Linked DNA regions of Homo sapiens: regions 1, 3, 4 and 5 are each linked to region 2. Evidence: promoter capture Hi-C in 16 types of primary human blood cells and fetal thymus (Javierre and others, 2016). All regions are on one chromosome and are shown on one strand. The core of a region is centred on a gene start or on the middle of the fragment in contact, and the rest is flanking DNA. Distances in the headings are between cores, read along the strand shown.

Region 1 (2,700 bases), core at 177-2,676, 500 kb before region 2:
AACTTCAGGGCAGAAAAAGTTGATACCAATATTCCCGTAGTGGGTGGGGCTATAACCTATAATCCTAGAGGGAATGTCAATCCTGAAAACCCCAGAGCATCTGGGAGTGGCCTATCATACCAATGCTGGAAACCCAGAGTGCCTGTTTCAGCCAATGAGGGTCCCCTCACCAAATGCCAAAAACCTGGGGGCACCAAGGGAGTGGCCAACAGTGAACCCAAGACCAAGTTGGGGTCATAGAACAATGTGACTCTGGTGTCCCAGAGTTGACGCAACAGAGCACAACTAAACATCCAGCCTTAAACAATTGCTCAAACACAGTTAACAGAAAGTCAAAAGGAAACATAACGCTTCAAATGAAACGTAAATTTTTGGACTCGAAATAAAAATAAAATGATTGGTGGAACAATAATATGGAGTCAGAGAAGAAAGCACAGGGGGGAGAGGTCACAAGGATGTGCCTCAGGGCACTCATACTGTGGGGGACTTTTAACCACTTAGCCGAAGGCTTTTTATTCCCCAGCTCACTAGATGTTATGGAGTAGGGGAAGAAGGGACACTTACCCATCCATAGGAGCCAAATGGCACCAGCCAGTCTTTCATGTGGGACCCTGGTGAAGGTCCCTCCAGGACCCCCCAGCTTGGGTGGGCTCAGCTGTCACACAGGGGGCAAGCATAGGGACTGGTAACCCACTGGCCTGCCATGGTCAGAGCTCACATGAGGCAGTGACATTATGGCCATTAGTGTGTCTGCTTGGCCCTGCCGCCTGCCAGGGAAAATGATGGCTCTGAAAAGAGCCTTTGGTTAGTGTTAGCAGCTCTTTATTGTTACAGCCTCAGTGTTATAGCTCTTGCAGCCTTGATCACAGACCGCTTTGCGGTCTCTCGCTGTCTCTGCTTGGTCTTGTCAGTCTCTCACTGTCTTCCCAGTTGCTGTCTCTCATAGTCGTCACCTCTCCACTGACCGCTGATTGCCACCGTCTCTGCTGTCCCACCATCTCACCTGTCTGCTGACTGCCACTGTCTCCACTGACTTGCTGCCTCTTGCTCATTATCTTTTTCCTTTCATTGATCACCAGATGATGGGAGGGCAGGTGAGCCCCCAAATTGGGGCTTAGCCTTGGGAGGTTCTTAGCTTTGCCCAGGAAAGAAAATCCAAGGATGAGCCAGTGGTGTTAGACAGCAACTTTTATTGAAGCAGCAGTGTATACTTAAAAAATTTGGTAACAGAGTACATCTTTCTTTTCCCATTATGCTCTTCCAAGATCCTAATAAACCTGCAGAGGTACTGGTCCTTGTGGAGCAGGGCTGTCCTATAGGCTGTATGCTCAGAGCAGCAGCTCAGAGGCAGTGCTGCATTCAGATTTATACCCACTTTTAACTACATGCAAATTAAGGGGTGGACTATGCAGTAATTTCTGTATGTAAAGGGTGGTAACTTCCAGTTCATTGGGTCATTGCTGTGGAAAGGGGTGGTAACTTCTGGGTGTTGTCATGGCAATGGTAAACTGACATAGCACACTGGTGGCCATGTCATATGGAAAACCACTTCTGCCCCATCCCTGTTTTAGCTAGTCCTCAATTTGGTCCGCTGCTGAGCCCTGCCTCTGGAGTCCAGTCCCACCTCCTACCTCATTATCTTGATAGTATTTCAGACTACTCAGGTAGAGTGAATTCCATCTGCAAATCACGCATGAGCCAGCTTGTAGTTATGAAGTTTTAGGGGAAATATGTCCCCCTTTTTCACTTGGTACCAAGTTTTGAGATAGGCAATTTTCTTTGTAGTCCCCTGAGGAAGGATTTGGGGGGCAGATGGATTTCTAGGGGCAAGGTGGGGTGCGGTGACTCATGTGTATAATCCCAGCACTTTGGGAGGCCAAGACAGGCGGGTCACTTGAGGTCAGGAGTTTGAGACCAGCCTGGCCAACATGGTGAAAGTTAGTCTCTACTAAAGTAAATACAAAAATTAGCTGGGTGTAGTGGCGGCGCCTGTAATCCCAGCTACTGAGGTGGCTGAAGCATGAGAATTGCTTGAACCCAGGAGGCGGAGGTTGCAGTGAGCCGAGATTGCACCACTGCCCTCCAGCCTGGGTGACCGAATGAGACTCCATCTCAAAGAAAAAGAAAAAAAAGACTAAAGGGACATAACTTGATGCATGCCAGTTTTATGCAGGAAAAATTTTCTGTTAGACTCTCCATCTTGGGTGGTCACTGAGTTTTATCTCCTTTTCTCAGTACTTCATGAACCTGTGAAAATGAACCTCCAAGTTTGTGTGGCTTGGCCAATGCCATTAAGCCAAAAGTGCCTTCTATCCTTTGCCTAGTTTTTGGCCTCTGATGATTTCCCTTTTTAAAAAATCACTTTATTGACATACAGAAAGTTGTACAGCAGGTTCTCAAATGATGTTTCACTCACTGTTGTTACTTTATAACATTGATATGAAAAAATATTTTATTTTTATCATTTTTTAAACTTTTTATTTTTATAGAGACCGGGTCTCTGTCACCCAGACTGCAGTGTGGCGGTGTGATCATAGCTCACTTACAGCCTCAAACTCCTGGGCTCAAACGGTCCTCCCACCTCAGCCTCCTGAGTAGCTGGGACTACAGGTGTGTACCACCTTGCCTGGCTAATTAGTCCAGATAATTAATTTTAATTAAATTAATTTTTTAAATTTTATTTTTTATTTTTGTAGAGAG
Region 2 (2,700 bases), core at 201-2,700:
AGGGCAGTGGTGTGATCATGGCTCACTGCAACCTGGAACTCCTAGGCTCAAGGGCTCCTCCCACCTCAGCCTCCCAAGTAGCTGGGTCTACAGGTGTGTTATTGTGCCAGGGTTAATGTTTTAAATTTTTTGTAGAGATAATGTCTCTACAAAAGACACCATCTTTGTTGCCTAGGCTGGTCTTGAACTCCTGGCTTCAGGGAATCCTCCAGCCTCAGCCTCCCAAAGTGCTGGGATTACAGCATGAGCCACATCCAGCCTATGATTTTTCTTCTTTTCTTTTCTTTTCTTTTCTTTTTTTTTTGAGATGGAGTCTCGCTGTTGCGCAGGCTGGAGTGCAGTGGGGCGATCTCGGCTCACTGCAGGCTCTGGCCCGCGGGGTTCACGCCTTTCTCCTGCCTCAGCCTCCCGAGTAGCTGGGACTACAGGCGCCCGCCACATCGCCCGGCTAATTTTTTGTATTTTTAGTAGAGACGGGGTTTCACCGTGTTAGCCATGATGGTCTCGATCTCCTGACCTCGTGATCCGCCCGCCTCGGTCTCCCAAAGTGCTGGGATCACAGGCGTGAGCCACGGCGCCCGGCCCCAGCGTATGACTTCTTAATGATGTCTTTGTAGTACAAGAGTTTTTAATTTTAATAAAGTTAACTTTTTTTTAAATTGTACAAGCTTTTAGTGCTGTGTCTAACAACTTGTTGCCAAACCCAAGGTCATAAAGCTGTTCTCTTACGTTTTCTTTTTTTTTTTTTTTTGAGACGGAGTCTCACTCTGTCACCCAGGCTGGAGTGCAATGGCACGATGTCGGCTCACTGCAACCTCCGCCACCCGGGTTCAAGCGATTCTTCCGCCTCAGCCTCCGGGGTAGCTGGGATTACAGGCGCACGACACCACGCCCTGCTAATTTTTGTATTTTTGTAGAGAAGGTTTCACCATGTTAGTTAGGCTGCTTTACGTTTTCTTTTAGAAGTTTTATATTTTTGGCTCTTATATTTAGTTTGTGATCCATTGAGTTGATTTTATGTACGTATGTATGGTCGCGTTCTTTTCTTTCCTGTCTTTTTTTTTTTTTTTTTTTGCATATGGATATTCAATTCTCCTAGCTCCATTTAATTTGAAATGATTGGGCAGGTACTTTTGAGCAGTGCAAGTACAGAGCGGCACTGCCAGCAGACTACACGCGGTAGAAAGCCGACCTTGGTGAGCGTGTTGGTGCTCGACAGTGAGCAGAGAAAGGATGGACGATTACGGAGCGCCCTCGTCTCCAGTTACCGCTTTCTGGAAACACCATCCGCCGGGGCGGAGCTGTTCCGCCCCGGTGCGGTACTACGACTCCCAGCATGCACCTCGCAGTCGGCCCTCGGTGGAAGCGGGAACCCAGGAGGACCTGGGGGTGTGGCAGCGAGGAAGGGCCGAGCCACGGACTGTGGGGCCGAAACTCGCTCCCGCCCACCCTTTCTCGAGGCTGTGGCCTCCGCGAGAGCCGAGCGGGCCGCACCGCCGGCCGTGCGACTGCCCCAGTCAGACACGACCCCGGCTTCTAGCCCGCCTAAGCCTGTTTGGGGTTGCTGACTCGTTTCCTCCCCGAGTTTCCCGCGGGAACTAACTCTTCAAGAGGACCAACCGCAGCCCAGAGCTTCGCAGACCCGGCCAACCAGAGGCGAGGTTGAGAGCCCGGCGGGCCGCGGGGAGAGAGCGTCCCATCTGTCCTGGAAAGCCTGGGCGGGTGGATTGGGACCCCGAGAGAAGCAGGGGAGCTCGGCGGGGTGCAGAAGTGCCCAGGCCCCTCCCCGCTGGGGTTGGGAGCTTGGGCAGGCCAGCTTCACCCTTCCTAAGTCCGCTTCTGGTCTCCGGGCCCAGCCTCGGCCACCATGTCCCGCCAGACCACCTCTGTGGGCTCCAGCTGCCTGGACCTGTGGAGGGAAAAGAATGACCGGCTCGTTCGACAGGCCAAGGTAACACGGTTGCTGGCACCCTCGGTTTGCAGCCTCAAGATCCCTGAAAGCGGGTTTGCAGTGGATTTACCCCAACCGATGGGGAGGGACTGAGCTTGACCAAAGAGCCAGAAATGACTGGAGAATGCATCCCTTGCCACTGCTGCAAGGGGAGAAAAAAGGATTGATCCTCAGTGACAACCCCTCCCTCATGTGGCAGGTGGCTCAGAACTCCGGTCTGACTCTGAGGCGACAGCAGTTGGCTCAGGATGCACTGGAAGGGCTCAGAGGGCTCCTCCATAGTCTGCAAGGTAGGCGGGTCCTCCCCAGGATGGTCAGTTCCCCTCTTCCATAGCCAGAGAAACATCCGCTCCTGCGTTTTTGGGATCGATATAATTACTCGGGGCAGGGAGTCCTGTTTAAGGCACAGAGGAGACTGGAGTGGAATCATCTTTGTACAGGCAAATCCCTCTCTTCCTTACACACTCACAGAGTGGCATTTGAAAAATGGTTTCCAAGATGGTCTGATCTGGATAACTTTTTTGCCCTTTCCAGACTCTCTGTCCAAAGGTTGGGTTCTTTTTTTAAATCCTTAGCTAATTGGCTGGAGGGTGGGTTCTTTATTGTAGCTGTTTTGGTTGGAGTGGGGTGATCTCTGAGTTGGGATTTTATTTGGAGGATCTTCCATGGGGGAGCAGTCTGTAAGACCAACATTGTTGCTCCAGGGCTCCCTGCAGCTGTTCCTGTTCTTCCCTTGGAGCTGACTGTCA
Region 3 (2,700 bases), core at 178-2,677, 410 kb before region 2:
ATCTTAAATACCAGCACAGAAATCAGAGGGATCCTAACCTGGCTCAAAACAGAAGAGAAACAGTGGCTGGCCATACAGCAGGACGGGCATAACTAACAGAATACCAGGTATACTGTTTGGATCTGCTCTTCCTTCCATTAAGCCATCCACCACTGCTTAATATCTAAGGAGCCGGCTAAGAAAATCCAGTCACTACTTTTATTTGCTAATACTTTGAGCCCCAGTTACAATAATGCCACTACTAATTAGGTAACTACTTTCTACCTTATCAACTCCTACAGCTTTCCAGCCATTGTTTCATCCCTCAGCGATACCACCTGCTTCCGCGTGGAACCCAAACCCCCAGGAAACTAAATCTGCTCAGGTCACCCACCTAGGAATAAATAAAAACAGGTTTCAGGCCCTTTGTCCTTTGTAAATTCCGCCTTTTTTTTTTTTTTAAGGCCTGTGTTCTTTATCACGGACACTGTTCACATAGTGGTAATCCTTGCCTGACTCAGATCTACTTGTTCCTGCGTTTCATTCCTCCGCTGCTCAATTACTTGTTCAAAACGCAAAGGACAACTGGTAGTGAAGACCCTCCACCAGCAACACTACCATGTGCCAGGCACCGTGCTGGGGACCGGGGATACAAAGATGAGTAGTGTACCGTCCTTGCCCCCAGGACAGTTCCCCGTGTCCGCAGGGCCGGCCTGGAGGGCCACAGCCAACTGTGGGCAACAGGATCACCGTGCCCTTCGCGGCAAGTGAGTGCAGTAGTAGGGGACGGTTACTGCCAAGCCAAAGGTTTTCTCCAGGTAAAACTGGATGACAGAGAGACAGAGACTGAAGCAACGCCGGCGCCGGGCGGATAATAAAGGGAGGCAGGGGCTAAAAGGGTGGAGGGAGCAGAGGACCCGGCCGGGAACTGGCAGTAGGGAGGCCCCCGCTGCAGTCGCCGGCCTGGGTGCCGGGCGGCCACGCTTCCCCAAAGCCGTCACAGGGACTTGGGGTACCAAGGTGACTACTGGGCGCGAGTCGTTTTGTGGGGGGAGGGTGTCCCCAAGGGGGCAGTTTGAGGAGACGGTTGGGGATGCATCTGGGGTGGCGCCCAAAGGGACGGTGGGTGCTGGGTGTTTGAAGGTCCGGTGGACGCAGAGCTGAAGGGTCAGGAGAAGGCCAAGGGTCAGAAGGGCTGGGGACGAGGTCTGCCCAGGGGGTCGGGGCGGACGCAGAGGGCGGGTGCAGCCGAGGGGGAAGGGCTGAAGGGAAGGGCAGGCGCTGAAGGCACATAGGTGGGAAGACAGGCCCTCCCCTAAGGGAGACCTTGGAACGCGGGGCAGTGGGTCTGTGGGACCCTGCCCGCCTCCGGAGAGGCGTTCCTACCTCGTTTCTCGCCTCAGCCTCGTCCTTCCGCGCCGGCGGCGGCGGCGGCGGCGGCGTGTCTCGCCCTCCAGGGGTCGCGTTGCAGGCTAGAGGCGCCGGCGGCCCCTCCCTCCGGGCGGGTTGGAAAGGCCGGCCCCTGTCGGCGTGGCGCGATGGTCCGATCTGGGTTGCCCTCAGGCCGCCCCTCCGGGCGGCGCGTTGGTTCGGTCCGCCCGGCCTAAGGTGCTCGCCCCCTCCCCGGCTCCCGCAGCGATGGGCGCAGCCGAGTCACGCGCAGAGCTTTCCCGCTAAGGGAGCGGAGAGGCTTCCGCCGTGGCCCAATCTTCTGCGGCCCGCGCCCGCCCCCGCGGGGTGGTGCCTGGCGACGCGCGGCTCCCGGGTGCTGGAACCCAGGGAAACCTTCCGCGGGCCTCCAGGGCCGGTGGGTGTGAGTCCCAGCTTCGCCTGAGGCGGCGGTTCTCAACGCTGGCTTCCCAGTAGAACCTAGTGTGGAAACTAACCAAACAACAGAAGGAGGGCTGACCTCACACTGGACCGACTCAGAACCACTGGGGTGGAGTGGGGTGGGGTGAGGTGGGGTTGGCCTCCAGTGCATAGCCAGGGTTCGGAACCCCTGATGAAACGTAGAACCCATGCGCCCCCTGCCCTTCAGGGCCGGATGTGTGGGGGACATGGAAGATGCCTGTGTGTGACTCCTGCTGTTTACAGCCAGAGGGGGATGGGGCAGGCAGTCCTGCAAATGTTATGGGAAACCCACTGTATTAGTCCGTTCTGACACTGCTATGAAGAAATACTATGAAGGAAAGAGGTCTGACTCACAGTTCCGCATTGTTGGCGAGGCCTCAGGAAGCTTATAATCATGGCAAAAGGCAAAGAAGTAGCCATCCTTTTCGCAGGGTGGCAGGACAGAGTGAGTGCAGGCAAGGGAAATGCCAGACGCTTATAAAATCATCAGATCTTGTGGGACTCACTCACTGTCACGAGAAGGGCGCAGGGGAAACCAGCCCCATCATCCAATTACCTCCACCTGTTCCCGCCCTTGACACAGGGGGATTATGGGAATTACAATTCAAGATGAGATTTTGGGTGGGGACACAGCCAAACTGTTACAGGTAGTTAGGCATGAGCGGGGCAGGAGAGGGTTCTCCCCTGCTACCCACTAGGGATGTTGGGTGATGGTTCTGAGGCAGGAGAATAGGGACTGGAGGCAGGGAACCTAAGACTGGTTCATGCCAACTTCCTGGAACTAAATTGAAAGGAAAACCCTAACTTTCCACACCTAAGTAACAAACCCCCCACCCAACTTTTCTGCCCAGCAGATGGGAAATTGGCTAT
Region 4 (2,700 bases), core at 100-2,599, 390 kb before region 2:
GCTTTAATATTTCAGTGGCTAAGGGAGTCTCGATTTGTATTAAGGATGCTTCTCTGAAGCACAGCCTCACTCAGCTCCCACATGCATTTCCCATGGAGCTGTAATCACTCACCTCAGAGACCGTCACCCTCTGTCCATCCTTGTCATAAGTATCACCTGTTGGTAAGTGAACACAGCAGAGACTTGGCAAGGGTTTTAAAGGAGGGTTTGAATTTCTTTAAATTGTTGTTAAAAAAATATACATATATATCACATAAAACTTGCCATTTTAACTATTTTAAATGTAAAATGCAATGACATTAATTATATTCACAATGTTGTGCAACAATCACCACTATATATTTCCAACATTTTTTCAGCACCCCAAACAGAAACTTCCCATTTTTTCCCATCACCAGCCCCTAGTAACCTCTAGTCTATTTTTTGTCTCTATGAATTTGCCTATTCTAGATAGTTCACATAAGTAGAATCATAAAATTTTTGTCTTTTTGTGTTTAGCTTACATCACTTAGCATAATGCTTTCAAGGTTCATCCATGTTGTAGCATGTATCAAATTTCATTACTTTTTATGGATGATTCACATTCCATTGTATGTATATGCTATACCACAGTTTCTTTATCCATTCATCTGTGGATGGACATGTGGGTTATTTCTATCTCTGGACTTATGCGAATAATGTCACAATGAACGTTGGTATACATGTATCCGAGTTCTTGTTTTCAAGTTTTGGGGGTATATACCTAGGAATCAAATTGCTGGGTCATATGGTGATTTAAAGGAGGGGCCTTAAAAGCTTATTTATTCTGATTCCTTCATCCTAGACTTGCAGTCAAGATGCCTGCCCCCCAGTCTCCTCAGGCCACCTAGCTCCCAGTTCCCAGTAAGCTCCTTTCCCTAAGCCAATGGTAAGAAGAGGTTTGCTTGGGCCTCAACTCTTCTCCCCTAAGTGAGAATAAGATGAAGCTAGAAGTTAGTCACTGGATCTGTGATAGACTTCACACCTCAGGAAGCCCTCCAATCATAAGAGTTACCCAGAAGAGATGTGGACACAGTTTTAGAATGTTTGGGATTCTTGACCAGTGGATGACAGACTGAATAGGGGTAGAAGACATGTCTGATGCCAAGCATGGAAACACTCATGGTCCTTTTCAACTTTACCCAGTATATGGTCAGGTCAGAGAATTAAGAGGCTCACCCAAATCAGCTCATCCAAAAATAAGCCTTCAGAGTTTATATAAGTGAAAATTTGTTTGACATGGTTACCAAACAAATAATAGGAAATATAGGAAATAATAGGAAATATTAGAGTGCTCTAGTCTTTTTTTTTTTTTTTTTTAGACAGGAGTTTCACTCTTGTCACCCAGGCTGGAGTGCAGTGGCATGATCTTGGCTCACTGCAACTTCCACCTCCCGGGTTTAAGAAATTCTCCCACCTCAGCCTCCCAAGTAGCTGGGATTACAGGCATGTGCCACCATGCCTGGCTAATATTTTTGTATTTTTTGTTGAGATGGGGTTTCACCATGTTGGCCAGGCTCGTCTCGAGCTTCTGACCTCAGGTGATCCGCCTGCCTCAGACTCCCAAAGTATTGAAATTACAGGCGTGAGCCAACGCACCCGGCCTAGCTTTTTTTAATTAAAAAATTTCAATTACTTATTGATATGAAATTTACTTAGTTAACATATAATTATCCATTTTAATGTGTACAATTTAGAGGCATTTAGTGCATTTACAATGTGCAACTACCACCTCTCTCAAGTTTCTAAACTTTTTCGTCACCCCAGAAAGATTATTCCATGTGTTCTAGTTTTTTAGATGTGATTACCTTCCTCTGTTAGCTAGGACACTGGGTATGACTGTTCACACACATGAGGACTTAACTCTATCACAAAAACAAGCTTATGCTTAAGGCATAAGATAAATAAGGGATTGGGCCTGGGAGACACTGATCAAACTCTGACTACCCTTTGATGGTTTCTCTCAATAATATTTATTGCTGTAAAGGGGAATCAAGAAATTAGCAGCTTCAGTAATACATTGACTGCTCCATTTAATTTATTTTTAATTTTATTATTAATTGACAAATACTAATTGTATATATTTATGGATACAATGTGATGTTTTCATATATGTATACACCATGGAATGATTATATCAAGCTAACTAACATATTTATCACCTTGCATACTTATTTTTTTGTAGTGAGAACATTTAAAACTCTTTTAGTAATTTTGAAATATGCAATACATTATTATTAACTAGGATCAACATGCTGTGCAATGGATCTTGAAGACTTATTCCTCCTGCCTAACTGAAACTTTGTACCCTTTGACCAACATCCATCTGATTTAAAGTGGGAGTGAACTGAGTACATAGACATTGGGGACTCCTTGAGGACAGAGACTAAGTCTTGCACATCTCGGTATTCTCAATGCCCAACACAATAGATTGTACCTATAAGATGCTAAATAAATGCTTTTTGGTTAGAACTGTTTGGGCTGGGTGGTCTTTGCTTAGAGAATAGAGACAGTTGTGAGAATAGGAGATAAATGTGAATTCCAGAGGCTTACAGATTTAGAGCTAGATTAGTCTTGAAAACAATTTGCAAAGTAAAAATTTCCCAGGACTTGGGGAAAGCAGGAAGACATGCATATCATAGAGCTTCCCATTAATAGAACATTTGTTGAAAATCATAATGT
Region 5 (2,700 bases), core at 109-2,608, 480 kb before region 2:
TGGGGACAGACAAAACTCAGCTGGAGGCTTCTCCGTCAAGGAAAAGGGGTCCTGGAAGTCAGGGCAGGTCAGTGGTAACGGCTTCACTGCTTGGCCTGGAAAGAAGAGAAAAATCAATCCTGAGCAACTCTCAGTGCAGGAGTTCCAGGCCAGTTCAGTGCCTCGTACCGTCTGAGACACGTTCCTTTGGGACTGACCCCTTCTCTAGCCCTTTCCAGCCATGGCAGAGCCTGCCCCGGGTGTACTGGGGACCCTGCTCACACACCATTCAGCCGGCAGTTCAGATGGCTGGCAGCACTGAGGGAGCCAGGGAACTCAAAGATAGGGTTTCTTCGGGCCAGCCGAGCTTCTTGTGATCTTCGGTCTAGGCTCCCTGACAAACCAGGTGGCCCTAGTGGGTTCTTCCTCCTGTATTCCCGCCACTTGAGGGCTTGAGGGGATAGGTGGTTGGCTGGAAGCAGAACAGATTAGCAGAAAGACAAGAGTTGGCAGGAGACAGCGAGACAGAGTTTCACATCCACCCAGTGGGCCCATATGAAACACTAGATTATCTGTGGATATTATCTACAGATGCTGAGGGAGGGATGCAGACATCCTAACCTCTGGCCCCAGGTGAGAGTGTAAGCAACCACTCAAAGGGGAGGTGGTGGAAGTGCTTGCGTGAGGTGGCGGGTTGGGTAGGGAGATGCTGGAGCTCGTACCATTACTGGGCCTGGTGGCCATGCTGCCCTCACCACCTCCCCGGGCCAGGCTCTCTGCTCGGCTGAGGCCAGATCGCCAGGAGCCCAGAGGCGGCAAGCTTCCTGTTCCATGGAGCCGGTACTCAGTCAAGGTCAGTATCTTCTGATCCTCCTTCTGCGGCTGCTGGGAGGTGGCAGGCCGGACAGCAGAAGGACAGGAGTGGCTCCATGGGGGCAGGCTTTCTGTGGCTGTGGGCTGCTCTGGGGGAGGGGAGCACGAAGTGGAGGCAGAAGAGTCAGTGCTGGGCCCAAAGGGGCCAACACTCCGGATGGGGGAGTAGCTGCCCAGGGGCGATGGCCGAGAGGTCTCTGGCTCAGACCCAGCTTTCCTGGCACCTCTGCCAGTGGCTCGGGGAGTGGATGCCTGCGGTTCCCCTGAGGGAGCTGGGACTGAGACTTGAGCAGCAGGGGCAGCCAGTGGGGCAGGCTGCTGTGTACGGCTGCAGCCTGAGAGGCTGTAGAGCTGGGAAAGGCTGTGGAGGGCCCGGGCCTTGGCCAGCTGCTTGGGGAAGTGGTGCTGGAACACGAAGGGCTGGATGGGCAGTGTGGTTGGCCTCTGTTCCTTGCTGTAGCGAAGGACTGGTCGGCTCTCGGTGCCACCCCCTGTAGCAAAGGGATGGAGAAGAAATCAGTAGACAGACACTGAAACCCATATGAGAGAAAACCCAGAAGCAGAGATGGGAGAGGGGAGAGGGGCAGGGACCTGGCTGGCAGGAATTGAATGGGGTAGAAGTTCGTGGAATGGGACACTGCTCCCCTCTTTTGTAAAACGCTTCCTATTGCTTTTATGGTGCTGGACTGTCTTGTACCTCTCTGCTGTTCAGTCCCTCTTCATTTTCTTGACTCCAAAGGTGAGTGTATCTTAAGGCTCAACTCTTGCATCTCACCTTACACTTTATTTCTTGAGAAGTTTTGAGTTCAGACTTCTACGGGATGACTCCCAAACCCACAGCTTTAGCCTGGACCTTCCTCTTCATCTCCAGATCATTCTGCTTTATAGTTCTGCTTTCACTTAAAATGTGCTATAACCGCTTATCCATCACCTTTCTCCTTTTTTCCGATGACTTCCATTTCTATCAATGGCAGAACCATTTTCTTTGTTTCTAAGTCTTGGAGTCACAGTCACACACATTTTCAGTGATGAAAATGTTTCAGATGTTACTGACTTCAAGCTTTTGCTCATTATCCCATCTCCAATCATGCCAGCACATTTCATTCCTGAGCATATCGAACCATAGTAAGATATTTCTTTACTTGCAGCCTACCTGTTATCTGTATCTACCCCCACTCCCACTCTTTTCACGATCCTGGCATTGGAACCTCAGAGTCCACATTTGCTCCCCCTGAACGGAGGTATGTTCCCCAAGGCTGGGCCTCTCCTGTTCTTTCAGGCAGTCTTCAGGTCAATGTCCTTCAAAACGTGGTGCTCAGAACTAAACACAAAACTCCAGGACACTGGAGTGGGACAGTGGATGGACTGCACTTCCAACAAAACACTGTAGATCTCCGAATAAACGTAAGATGGCGCTATAAGCACGCACCCGGCCTAAAGCCCTGGTGAAAGCTCACCAGCAGTGGGGCTCAGTAGCTCTGCGAGGCGGGAATTAGTTCTCTTACTTGACATATTAGGAAATGTGAAATGTAGACAGATTAAAGCACTTGCTCAAGGTCAAACAACTAGGAAGTGGCAGAGCTAGAATTCTGCCTAACCCAGAGTCTGATTTCAGAGCCACTGTTCTTTTTACCACATTGTACTACATGTGAAATTGTATCAGGCCAGGTTTTCCTATCCCTCATCTTATTTACATCAAAGAGTCAGAGGGGATGGGGACCACAATCCCATTAGGGAGGTGCTTCTGAATCACTCCCAGGGGACACTTTCAAGCTCCACCCTCCTGCTATACCCAGTCACTGCTTACACAGACTCTGCATTCTCCCTGGCCCACTGTGCTCCAGCCAC

What was found. Contacts are between HindIII fragments. The CHiCAGO score rates a contact against its expected background, and 5 or more counts as called.
Region 1: a fragment that was not itself captured here is called in contact with the fragment with the promoter of FANCG in region 2 in 1 of 17 cell types (endothelial precursors); the score reaches 5.1 in endothelial precursors.
Region 3: the fragment with the promoter of RUSC2 here is called in contact with the fragment with the promoter of FANCG in region 2 in 2 of 17 cell types (monocytes and M2 macrophages); the score reaches 5.8 in monocytes.
Region 4: a contact is called between a fragment that was not itself captured here and the fragment with the promoter of FANCG in region 2, in 5 of 17 cell types (M0 macrophages, M1 macrophages, M2 macrophages and 2 more). The highest score is 9.9, in M0 macrophages.
Region 5: a contact is called between a fragment that was not itself captured here and the fragment with the promoter of FANCG in region 2, in 2 of 17 cell types (monocytes and M0 macrophages). The highest score is 5.9, in monocytes.

What each region holds. Positions count from the first base shown.
Region 1 is chr9:35,573,669-35,576,368 of GRCh38, reverse strand. No RefSeq gene overlaps it. Among named protein-coding and RNA genes, the nearest start is that of CIMIP2B, 11 kb to the right of the region's middle. The HindIII fragment of the contact is 7,332 bases long and covers 1-2,700 here.
Region 2 is chr9:35,078,692-35,081,391 of GRCh38, reverse strand. FANCG (FA complementation group G) reads left to right here and starts at 1,450. Exons shown (of 14, transcript NM_004629.2): 1 at 1,450-1,951; 2 at 2,151-2,241; 3 at 2,656-2,700. The coding sequence starts at 1,868. RefSeq lists enhancers at 1-604, 1,821-2,428 and a silencer at 1,580-1,745. The HindIII fragment of the contact is 2,060 bases long and covers 671-2,700 here.
Region 3 is chr9:35,488,838-35,491,537 of GRCh38, reverse strand. It overlaps RUSC2 (RUN and SH3 domain containing 2), which reads right to left and starts at 1,427. Exons shown (of 12, transcript NM_014806.5): 1 at 1,366-1,427. It overlaps LOC105376026 (a long non-coding RNA gene), which reads left to right. Exons shown (of 2, transcript XR_929580.4): 1 at 1-107; 2 at 282-419. RefSeq lists a silencer at 1,459-1,758. The HindIII fragment of the contact is 5,552 bases long and covers 1-2,217 here.
Region 4 is chr9:35,471,184-35,473,883 of GRCh38, reverse strand. It overlaps the pseudogene ATP8B5P. Among named protein-coding and RNA genes, the nearest start is that of RUSC2, 18 kb to the left of the region's middle. The HindIII fragment of the contact is 1,104 bases long and covers 798-1,901 here.
Region 5 is chr9:35,553,703-35,556,402 of GRCh38, reverse strand. RUSC2 (RUN and SH3 domain containing 2) reads right to left here. Exons shown (of 12, transcript NM_014806.5): 3 at 702-1,343; 4 at 266-451; 5 at 1-95. Among named protein-coding and RNA genes, the nearest start is that of CIMIP2B, 8.8 kb to the left of the region's middle. The HindIII fragment of the contact is 1,113 bases long and covers 802-1,914 here.